Regions from separate parts of the Homo sapiens genome. Here region 2 is linked to region 1. Evidence: promoter capture Hi-C in 16 types of primary human blood cells and fetal thymus (Javierre and others, 2016). All regions are on one chromosome and are shown on one strand. Each heading gives the region's core, a stretch centred on a gene start or on the middle of the fragment in contact. The rest is flanking DNA. Distances are from core to core; before and after follow the strand shown. Region 1 holds the start of OLFM4 (olfactomedin 4). Region 2 overlaps SUGT1 (SGT1 assembly cochaperone of MIS12 kinetochore complex).

What was found. The method cuts DNA at HindIII sites, captures the fragments that hold promoters and counts their contacts. A CHiCAGO score of 5 or more calls a contact.
Region 2: a fragment that was not itself captured here is called in contact with the fragment with the promoter of OLFM4 in region 1 in 1 of 17 cell types (neutrophils); the score reaches 5.2 in neutrophils.

Annotation. Positions count from the first base shown.
Region 1 is chr13:53,025,601-53,031,314 of GRCh38, forward strand. OLFM4 (olfactomedin 4) reads left to right here and starts at 3,213. Exons shown (of 5, transcript NM_006418.5): 1 at 3,213-3,440. The coding sequence starts at 3,237. The HindIII fragment of the contact is 2,031 bases long and covers 2,398-4,428 here.
Region 2 is chr13:52,661,699-52,667,412 of GRCh38, forward strand. It overlaps SUGT1 (SGT1 assembly cochaperone of MIS12 kinetochore complex), which reads left to right. Exons shown (of 13, transcript NM_006704.5): 6 at 951-1,004; 7 at 1,398-1,414; 8 at 2,337-2,359; 9 at 3,939-4,035; 10 at 5,114-5,221. Among named protein-coding and RNA genes, the nearest start is that of SUGT1, 12 kb to the left of the region's middle. The HindIII fragment of the contact is 4,657 bases long and covers 647-5,303 here.

The DNA.
Region 1 (5,714 bases), core at 1,963-4,462:
GGTGCTGGAGATTGAAAACCAATGAAGCCATGGTCTCCATCCCTAAGAAGCTCAGCACCTGGCAAATTCTTCACACTTCAACCCATCTTGGGTCTCTGGAGTCTATCCAGTCATTTCTCAGTATTCATTTAACTGGTTTTGTGTTCAATTTGTGTTTATTCCTAGTATATTCCCTGAAGTGGCCTGCCTTCCGTAAGTGACTAGGCATTTTCATTAGAAAAAATTATGCATTCTTCTTTCCTTATCATCATAGGGCCTGATGTTCTGCACAGAGTAGGCTCTAACACACACTGTTAACTGAGGGACCACTTTCCAGGGTAAATAAATGGGGTCAGCTGATTATTACTTATATACACGATTGTTGATATTGCTAATAGAAATTTGAGGGTTGTTGACGATGTAGTCAACTGATATGAAAAGCCTCTATTACCAATCTGTAGACCAAACACAGCCTCTGTTTTCCTCATATACACCAGATACCCCATAGATACCCTCCTGCAAAAATGCAGCAGTATGTTTGATTTTTAATGACAGGAGGATTAAATTAAAGTTATGTCTACACGGATGTCTTCCTTGTGTGTTGCAACTGTTCAAGAAGTACGGTTTGGGGAGGTCCCCTAATGAAGTGCATAAATAGTAACTTTCTTTCAAACTGTCAGTGAAGATTGCTGTATTACTCATGTGAATTTCGGTGACCCCTTACTCTAGAAGGAGCCCAGGGTAGAACACATTTTTACAAATAATACACTTTGCTTTGCAGCTCTGATAATTTTGTTCCTGTCTTTGAGTCTGTCATACAACCAGGAGGCTGCTTGTTTCTTAGGACAAAGGTATTTGCAGGGAAACTGATCAAACTATTTTTATTAATAATCTCATTATTATTAATAATCTCATTACGGAGGCATCACCAATGCTTTTGTGCATTTGAGGGCTACCAAATAGATTAAAGTTTTATTCTGGAAACTCTGGAGCCATACAAGAACAAAGAAGCTTATGAGCACAGTGGGTGGTGGTTCTTCCCTGGCTAAGGCACATTTGTGCTTGGGAGAACTGCTGTCCCATTTCTGCAGTATTGCCACCCCTCTGGTAAGGGGTCTTCTAATGAATTGGCCATAGGAGACCTTAAAGGTAGTCATGACTACAGGCTATACCACTGTTAATGAGATTTTCTTTCTGACAGGGCACCAACATGCTCCTTGAAAAAAGGTACAAGGAAGGCTCATTACAGCCACATGCAGAGGCTACTAGCAAATGAGAACAGATTTGCCATTTGTTTTGGTGGGAATCGGGAGGAAGAGGGGAATTGTGCTGGGAGGTAGAGACACATTCTTCTCCTTATGTCCATATTCATTGCATTCAATCTTAGAATAATGGATTCAGTCTCCCAGTTTTCATTCTCACACATTCTGTATGCATTCCCTGCCTTGGACTGGGGATCTAAGTGGTTAGAACATTTGACCAAAGAGGCCAAGGCTGAACTGCTTCCCACAGAGAACAATGAACTTTACAGCCCACATTTCTCCCTATCTGTTCTTCTTCACTCTCTATCCATCCATTTGTGGTTTTCCTGTCTCCCCTTCCCCCTCCCCACCACCCCAGTTTCTGAATAGTGTACCAGGGGTTTAAGACCCTGTTTCTCACATTAGCACTGTGCTTATTCTGAGAGTTTGTGTGGAGCTTCTGGGGTGGGGTGGAGTGGGGCATGAACCTTCTCTCCTTGTTTTGAACCCAGCAATCTTACATATTGATCTAGTCTTTAGGAAATTAAACAAACAATGAAAAAGCTGACATTTTTATGGCACGTCAAAAGTCATAAGCAACTTCCCATACAATATTTCATTTAATTCAAACAATTTAGGAATTGTTACAACCCTAGAGGGGCTAAGTGACATGCTCAAGGCCACCGACTCATTGTGACACAGCTTTTTTGTTTGTTTTTGTTCTTTTGAGACAGCCTTACTCTGTCACCCATGCTGCAGTGCAGTGGTGTGAACATGGCTCACTACAGCCGCAACCTCCCAGGCTCAGGTGATCCTCCCACCTCAGCTTCCCAAGTAGCTGGGACCACAGGTGCATACCGCCACACTTGGCTATTTTTTTCATTTTTTGTAGAGACAGGGTCTCACCACATTGCCCAGGATGGTCTCCAACTCTTGAGCTCAAGCCATCCTCCCACCTTGGCCTCCCAAAGTGCTGGGATTACAGGTGCGAGCCAGCATCCCCGGCCCAGAGCTGGGTCTTAATACCGAGACTAACACCTTTTTCTTTCTCCAGGGAAGAAGGCAGAGGTCACAAAGGTGTGTGAAATGTTGAGCAGGGCAAATGGATCCTGGAGCCCAGGGTCAGAGCTGCTGAGCAAGAGAAAATGCATCTTATTTCTCAGTTTTATGAAGAATAAGCTTGAGATCTTGAATGCCTGGCTGGCTCACAAGAAGCTCAGGGGCAATAGAGGTCAAAGTTTTCTGGAGAGAGAAACTGCTCCTGGGGTCCTCCTTGACTGGGTTTGAGGCAGTGCCCTGGCCTGGGAGAGCGGGCACTGGGTCATCGGGATCCCTTTGTTTATTTGGGTGTTTTCTCTTCCCTATATGAAGCATACAGTGGTGAGTACTTGATAGGGCAGAGTCCTACCTGGTTGGCCAGGGAACAAAACGTTGCTGGTCTTTCCTTCAGAGTGGGGTTGTTAGACAACTTTGTCTAGAAACAGTCACTGTAAGGAACAGGTCAACGACAACTTGGGCAATAGGAACTGAAGAGGGAAGCTCAGTCGCTCCTGGAGGAGAGCCACAGTCCCTAAGGCAAGTTCCCTAACTGTCTGTGAAAAGTAGTATTCAGTAAAATGGGGGAGAGCACTAGAAGTGCTGTGAGGCAAAGGACTGAGGGTTGCTTTTCCTCCATGGAGCCTCCAAACTCTGTGTCATCCACAAAGACTACTTTGGTCTCATCTCTTTCAAGGAAGTACCAAGTGGGAAACCAAATATTGGGCTTTACAAAGCACATTTGAGTTAATGTTTGGCAGGGGATATCTGGATCCAAGGGCAGCTCACAGAGTGGGCCTCACTGACAAGGTGTGGGCCATGACTCAGATTCCTGGGTGTCCTGAACCTCCTGGGGCAGTTCACACGTTCCCTGGCCACTCCCTCTTTTCCTACATGCTGGCCATGGGGAAATCACCACTGGGCACTATAAGAAGCCCCTGGGCTCTCTGCAGAGCCAGCGGCTCCAGCTAAGAGGACAAGATGAGGCCCGGCCTCTCATTTCTCCTAGCCCTTCTGTTCTTCCTTGGCCAAGCTGCAGGGGATTTGGGGGATGTGGGACCTCCAATTCCCAGCCCCGGCTTCAGCTCTTTCCCAGGTGTTGACTCCAGCTCCAGCTTCAGCTCCAGCTCCAGGTCGGGCTCCAGCTCCAGCCGCAGCTTAGGCAGCGGAGGTTCTGTGTCCCAGGTGAGGAGGCCCCAGAATCTGAATGAGCTGCATTCATTCCCTTCCATTTGCTTTTGGGTACCTGAATACAATTTCATGGATGGCTAGACCTGGGCACTCTAAAAGATTTACGACTCATTTTGTTAACTATAGGTGCCCCGGAAATGAATTAAAGCCTCAGTAAAATAATTAAATTGTTAGCAAGAGAGACGATATCGCAGTTCTCCAGCTGGGACTTTTGGGAATATCTATGCTTTAGAGGAATTCTCAAATCTGGCTGCACATTAGAATGGGTGGCCGGGGGGACTCTAAAAGTACAGATGCCTGGGTTCTGTACTTAAAAAAATCCTACATAGATGTATACAAATCAAATATTTTAAAAAACCTCTCCCCAGGTGATTCTAATATATAGTCCAAGATGGGAACTGTTAGGGAAAGACTCTGTGAGTTGCAGCTCTGGGAAGTTTGTCCAGTTGTTTTGCTGCCTGGCAGGATCCCGGAATGGTGAACAGTAGCCCTCGAGGGAGTGAGAGCCGCAGTGCCCTAGTTGAAGCCCTGACCATTTCTCTTGGCCTGGTTTATAAAGGAGGTGGGTGTCAGAAATAAGGGGGGAGTTACTGGTCTTTAGCAAAGTGTTATTACCAGTGGACATTCGCCTAGGGGAGTGTTCACTCTTTGCAGTCTTCTTTACAGGGAATCTTCAGGACCATTTCCAGCTCCAAACAACAGTAGCAACAAACAAACAAAACCAAAAGTCATGCATTACAACGAGGCTGGTACAGCTAGGCTAAGTGCATTGAAGGCATAGTAAGCCAGTTCCGTGGGGGATGAGTCCTCTTTGGATCTCCTTTAAAGAAAGGAGAATGGGCTGGAGGGCATGAGAGGTTAGGAGGTAAGAAGCAGTTATTCATTTCACTCTGGGCCTTTCTGCGGGAACCCCACTCTGCAAACCTCCTAGGCTATTTTTGCTAAGGTATAACTTGGGGTGGGGGAGTCTTATCTGGGCCAAAGCTTCTCTCTCTAAGCCTCTAGGATCTTTCCTCACAGGTCAGGTAGCTGCTTACATTATCATGCTTGAATGGAAGGGCAAATGGGAGAAGGGGGAGGAAAAGACTTTTATTTGTTTTATTTTGACCATCAGAAATTACAGATAATAAAAATGTGATAATTAACAAATGATTTGGATAGGGCCTAGATAGAAACAGCAGCAATAACATTTACTGTGTGTCTAATAAATGCCAGGACTAGGTTAAGTACATAATATATATCTTTTTGTTGTTGTTGTTGTTTGTTTGTTTTTTGAGACAGAGTCTCATTCTGTCACCCAGGCTGGAGTGCAGTGGCACGATCTCGGCTCACTGCAACCTCCGCCTACCAGGTTCAAGCGATTGTCCCACCTCAGCCTCCTGAGTAGCTGGGATTACAGGCACCCGCCACCACGCCTGGCTAATTTTTGTATTTTTAGTAGAGATGGAGTTTCACCATGTTGGTCAGGCTGGTCTCGAACTCCTGACCTCATGATCTGCCTGCCTCAGCCTCCCAAAGTGCTGGGATTACAGGCATGAGCCACCGCACCTGGCCTGTATTATCTTATTTAACCCTAAGAGGTAGGTACAATTAATGGTCCCATTTTAGAGATGTGAAAACTAAGGCTTATCAAGGTGAAGTCATTAGTTTTAAGTCACTAAGCTAGCAAGTTATATAGCTCAAAATTAGTCTGTCCATTCTCTTCACCATGTCTGTACATATAGGTTTCTATATTTCCAAGGAGTATAGATGAAAATTGCTTATTTTTTAGTTAGAGGAGGGAGGCTTGGGAATCATAAGTAGGCACAAGGATTCTTTGCAGTCAGAAATCAGTTACATAAGTTTATTCTGTGATACTCAATGATTTCTGGGGATGATCAGAATTGTCTAGCACTCTTTTTTGGACTGAGGTTAACAATAATAATTTATTATGAAGCTCCATCACCAGTCAGAAACCAGCATTTGGGTAAGATTATCAACTATAATAATAGAAAATAAAATACAGATCAAGAAACAGAGAAATCCAGAATGCCTATTGTCTGGTAAAAAGACAGATATTTAAAAGTAGATGAGACATGGTAGTTAAATTGGACTTAGAGGTTTTAATTTTCCTTTTTACTTATCTCTCCCTGGTGAGTCAGTATCACAACTCCAACTTTTTTTTTATACTGGACTAGGAGTCAATTTCACTATCAACCTAATTTTCTGGGGCTGGCTGTCAGCTTGATGAGCTCTTTGGAAGGTGGTAGAAAACCCTTTTATAACTGT
Region 2 (5,714 bases), core at 1,725-4,224, 360 kb before region 1:
AGTTACTGATTACTTAAAATAATAGGTTACTCAAATCTTTTTGATATAATAGATTTTGATACAATAGTTCTCTAGAATACAGTGTGTGTGAGAGTGTATTTAAATTTTTTATTAATGCTGGTATAGTTGGATTTCTTTTATAAATTAGTAAAGTAGAAATTTTTGTTAAGAAATTTTTAATTTAAGATTTTCAAATTTATCTTGTCTGCAGTTAACTTGAATTAATAAGCTCTTATTTAGAGTACTTTTAATACTTTTAACATATCTTACTATGCACTGTGACTGTTTAAATGTAATCATTGTTCTGTGTCTCCAGAAGTGAATAATTTGTTTATGCATACATTTACACTGTTATCTATAAATATATAATACATCACCTATAGCCTCTCGACTGCCATGTAACTTGGAGATAGGACAAAACTTCACGGAATTTAAAGATGCTTGGTGTTGGTAGGAAAGGCATGGTAACAGATAAAGCCACTGAGAGAATAGTGGACTGAATAGGTATCTGCATTGAAGAGCAAGCTGGGGCTGGGAACGGCTTTTGAACCTCAACTCAGCTCCCAGTTACCAAGCCTCCTCCCCACCCTAACTGATGGCATATTGGGAGTCTGATTTACATCTGATTTTGTTCTGTGTGTGAGGAAGCTTCTCTAAGAGCAGCGGGATTGGGGGAAATGCAGATTATTTGTATCTGTGAAATTAAGGTTGACTGTAGTTAAAATTTTTAAAAAATCAAAATGTTTCATGATTAACAACTAAATGTTAAACTATTGGTATATTTATAACTATAGTAGAGTTGGTGATAAGGTCTGTTAAGACAGGTTTTGTTCGCTGCCGACTCCCCAGTGCCTAGAACACTGCCTGGGATGTAGTAGGTATTCAGTAAGTATTTGTTGATTTATAGGTTGTGCAGATGAGTGATGTTATAGTCAGTTTTTTCTTTCTAGGTGCAGATGCTAATTTCAGTGTCTGGATTAAAAGGTGTCAAGAAGCTCAGAATGGTATGTGGGTCTCCCTTGGTATTTGTTTCAATTTAAAAAGAAGTAAACATCTGAAATTTTTTTGGTTTAAACAAATTTGTTTTTATCTTTATAATTTCTTTTAAATAGTATACGTTTCCTTAGATGTGGACTTCCAAAGATACACTGGTTTTTGCATAGCTTCTTATGTTGAAAGGGGGATTTGGGTGGATTTGCTTGTATGGTATATCAGTAAGAAATTACTAAGGAGTCTAAAATGAATTCAGGATGCAAAATGAAACCACTTTTCTTTAGTTGAAAGGTACGGAGAATTTGCTTGCTTAATCAGTATGTTTGTGCTATAGAAATCATACAAATAACTTTGCTTAAAAATGCACTGTTCCCTGAAAATGTTTCCTTTTTATGTTTTAATAGGCTCAGAATCTGAGGTGGTAAGTCCAAAGTTTTCATTCTTCATGTTTTTATTATTTTAAATTTCAGCTACCAAATATATTTGAGACAAGACTCAGGATGAGCTGTCTGATATTTAAATATTAAGCAATTCCATTTAAGTGCTGGTTCCTCTAGGCACTGAAATAAAATCATTTTTTGATAAATATAGAAGTTTCCAGTCATGAAAATTATTGGCCTATTTTAATGAATTTAGTGTGTGGTTAAAGTTGATTTCGTGTGTTTTAATATGGTCATGATGATCATTTATCTTTTCGTTACTAAAACCTTATTGCATTTATTTAGGTTCAACAGTTTGAATCACTTGTAGGGCTTTTTATGATAGGCTAAGACAAAAGTTAAAGAAAATTGGAAATTGACAGGGTCTTGCTCTGTCATGCAGGCTGGAGTGCAGTGGTGCCATCATAGTGCACTTGAGCTTCAAACTCCTGGGCTCAAGCAATCTTCCCACCTCAGCCTTCCAAGTAGCTGGGACTACAGATGTACACCACCAAGCCTGGCTAATTACTCTGTTTCTTTAAAACGATTTTTAAAACAATGTTATTTTAGTTTAGGAAGTTGCTGAATCTTAGAACTGGCCATTTTATATAAGCAACCTTTTCTAATCATGCCTTTAGAAGTTTTCTGTTATTTAAAGTTCTGTTATTTTAGAGCAAAAATCTTTTATGAAATTCAATCTAAGATTTTTTAAATGCTGAGCATTCTAATTTTTTTCCGAAAACTAGTGGTATTTAACAATTACAGTTACTATGTCTTTGAAGAAAATTTTCATGTAGTTATTTTATATCAAAATAACTGCAGTGTTGGGTAAATTAATAATACATGCATTTTAATAATACAGTTGCTAAACTGACTTGTAAAAATCTTTCTCTTTCAACTTACCAAAATCAATCTGCATCCCAGTGGACTCATCAGTCAAAAATCAAGTGAGTGTTTCTTTTTCATAAAACAATGCATGATAAATATGCCTAAAGAGGAAGAAACCCTGTAGTTTAATAGTAAGCAAATTCTTACCATGTGATTTTTAAGTTTTTGTTTGTTTTCTAAAATTGTGTAATAGCTTTATGTAAAGCCAATTTTAAGGCTGTTTAAGGATTAATATTTGTACTTCAGTTAAATTCAAATCATTTCTCATCTTTAAAGTTGCTTCACTTGGTTTCATATTATGTTACCTTTCCATATGTTAAGGAGAGTCTCTTCCAGTTAAGTTTATGTTACTACACAGGTAAACAAGTTAGTAGTAGATCTAACAGAATTGTAACTTAACCTGCCTTTTATATTTGGAGCAAATTTTTCATAGGAACATTCTGTATGCGTTGAAAGTTAATATTGCTGAGGGCAGCAATTATAATAATGAATAAGCAACTAGCAAGTCTTTGACTTTTAATTATTCATTAGCCTGTGTACAGCTTGTATTCTTAGGACCGTAACAGAAACACAAGCCGTTGATCTGGAGCTTTGCATCCTTACTGAATTGCAAAGGGAAACCGAGACTCTTAAAGTTCATTTCTTTAATCAAGGTGGTTTTGGATATAATTACCTAAAATGGCCTGGAAAAGTTAAAAACCATCTATTCATGGTAGTTGTGGGGAGATACAGGATGAAACTCCAAGTACCTAGTAGATAAGGAACTTTGACTTGCCCTGGTGGCAGCAGCAGGGGTAGGGCACATAACCATGAAATAATAATTAAGGTGTTCAGAGCATAAAATAATCCCACATCTAACTTAATATACGTGTACCGGACACTGTGCTTGGTCCTAGGGATATAATAGCGACAGGATAAACAGCTCTGCCCTCAGAGAGCTTTTAATCTAGTCTAATTTGAAAGTGAGGATTCCTACGTTTCTAGAGCTTTCAGTACAAAAGATGCACATAATTAGAATCTAGACCCATTAGTCTTTCCATGTATCTTGAAATTGAAGGAAAGTGTTGTATATGATGTTGTGCCTGACACAGTTAAACTTCATATGATTTTAATTTTAGTTCATTTGCCCCTGTTTTGTGTGCTCAAGTCTATCTGCTTCCAACATCAGTTTTGAGAGCTTGGAGTGTTGACTCAGGCTTATTGCTTCACCTTTCTGAGCTTAAGTTTTATCATCTGTAAAATAGGGATTTAAGTGTTTATCTGTAGTATTTGGATGAAATGAGAGTATAAAAACTCTATTGATGGCATATAAATATTAGCTTGTTTAAAATAAATGACATCTTTAATATTTATATTAGTTTAAGCACAACAGTGCTAGAGATGAGTCAGAACCCAGAAAATCATGCAAGTATTTAAGTCTACTGGAAAGGTGTGAGCATCATTTACCTTACCATTTTTTTCCATTAGTACAGAGCATAAAAAACTAGTTATATAAAGTTGTTTCTGTGAATCAGTAGTTGCTTTGCTGTTTTCTTCCTCCAGGTGGGGCTCTTGTTGTTTATCAGACTAGTTTTTGTTTTGACAATAGCTTTAAAAAAATTAGAAGAGTTACCTAAGTTTCTTTTTTTTTTTTAATAGGTATGACTGGTATCAAACAGAATCTCAAGTAGTCATTACACTTATGATCAAGAATGTTCAGAAGAATGATGTAAATGTGGAATTTTCAGAAAAAGAGGTCAGTAGACTGAATCATTTTTCAATGTTGATTACTATTATTTGCAAATTTAGTATATTGCAGAATAATCGATAACGGTTTATCAGATAAATGCTATTTCTTCCTGAGATGATTTGGAAAATGTTGAATAAAATCTGAAGCCATTGCTTTGAGGTAAGAATATGTATGTTGGTAAATTATAGCTGGATGTGCATTTTTTTCTTTAGATTTGAAATTTAAAGCAGAATTTGGTTATATTAGTAAGATAATGTGCTTTGGTTATACTTGTGTGGTGTACTTCATGAAAAAGATCTAGTTAGTTTTGTGATCACACATGTCTTAGAATTGACTAGCCATGTTAAATGAGTATGACTTTTTTTGTTGTTGTTTTTTGAGACAGAGTCTCGCTCTTGCGTAGGCTGGAGTGCAGTGGCGCAATTTCGGCTCACTGCAGCCTCCTCCTCCTGGGTTCAAACAATTCTCCTGCCTCAGCCTCCTGAGTAGTTGGGACTACAGGCACATGCCACCGTGCCTGGCTAATTTTTGTAGAAACGGGGTTTCACCATGTTGGCCAGGCTGTTGTCGAATTCCTGACCTCAAGTGATCTACCCATCTCAGCCTCCCAAAGTGCTGGGATTAGAGGCATGCACCACCGTGCCCAGCCTCTTGAGTATGACTTTTAACAACTTGATTTCTTACCATTTAGTAGAGAACCTTATAATAGATTATTTAAAAGAGGTAGTGATAGAACTGTATGTTTTGCACATGGATCACTTTTTGTTATATATCATTTTGCTTTTGTATGTTTTCTTGAAATCTAAATATCAAATAGGTGTGATTAAATATATGACAAATATTATGAAACTTATTCTTTTCTGCTGTTTAATGATGTCTATAAGAATTCATGTCAAGGATACCAGATGGAAAAAAAAGGTTCTTAAATCTTTGAGAACCTTTTGAGGTTCTTAAATCTAAAATTCCATATATAATGTTTAAAATAATTTGTAACATTATTGAAGATTTGTCATTATTTTGTGTAGGTTTTTTACCCTCCATTATATACATTTACAAAATGTGATGCTAATTTTGTGTTCATTAGTTGTCTGCTTTGGTTAAACTTCCTTCTGGAGAGGATTACAATTTGAAACTGGAACTTCTTCATCCTATAATACCAGAACAGAGCACGTTTAAAGTACTTTCAACAAAGGTAAGACCATTGAAAAGTTTGTTACTAGTAATATTTTCAAAATTATAGAAATACTGGTGAACTAATCACCCATGTGTTTATAAGCTTGTAGATTCTTTCAGCCCTTTAACAGGGACAAGAAAATAAGAATGATAACTTTTGAGTATAAGGGTTATTTTACCTCTCAAATTCTAGTACAGTAAAGAATAAAAATCCACTTAGAGTGTGTGGCATTTGTGTATTTACTAAGACAGATATAATGTTTTTCAATAAAGGGGTTTTTTTAAAAAGATACAATAATCAGCCTGTCTTTAAGATTTGATACTGACAATGTCTCTTCCCTTGAACTTGTCAGTTTTGTCTGTTTTGATGTACAAATACTTTTGTCACCCTACCTCATGCAGTTAAAAATACAAACTACAAGAAAGATGAATCTGCCTTTTGTTTTTTTTGTTGTTGTTGTTGAGACGGAGTCTTGCTTTGTTGCCCAGGCTGGAGTGCAGTGGCGTGATCT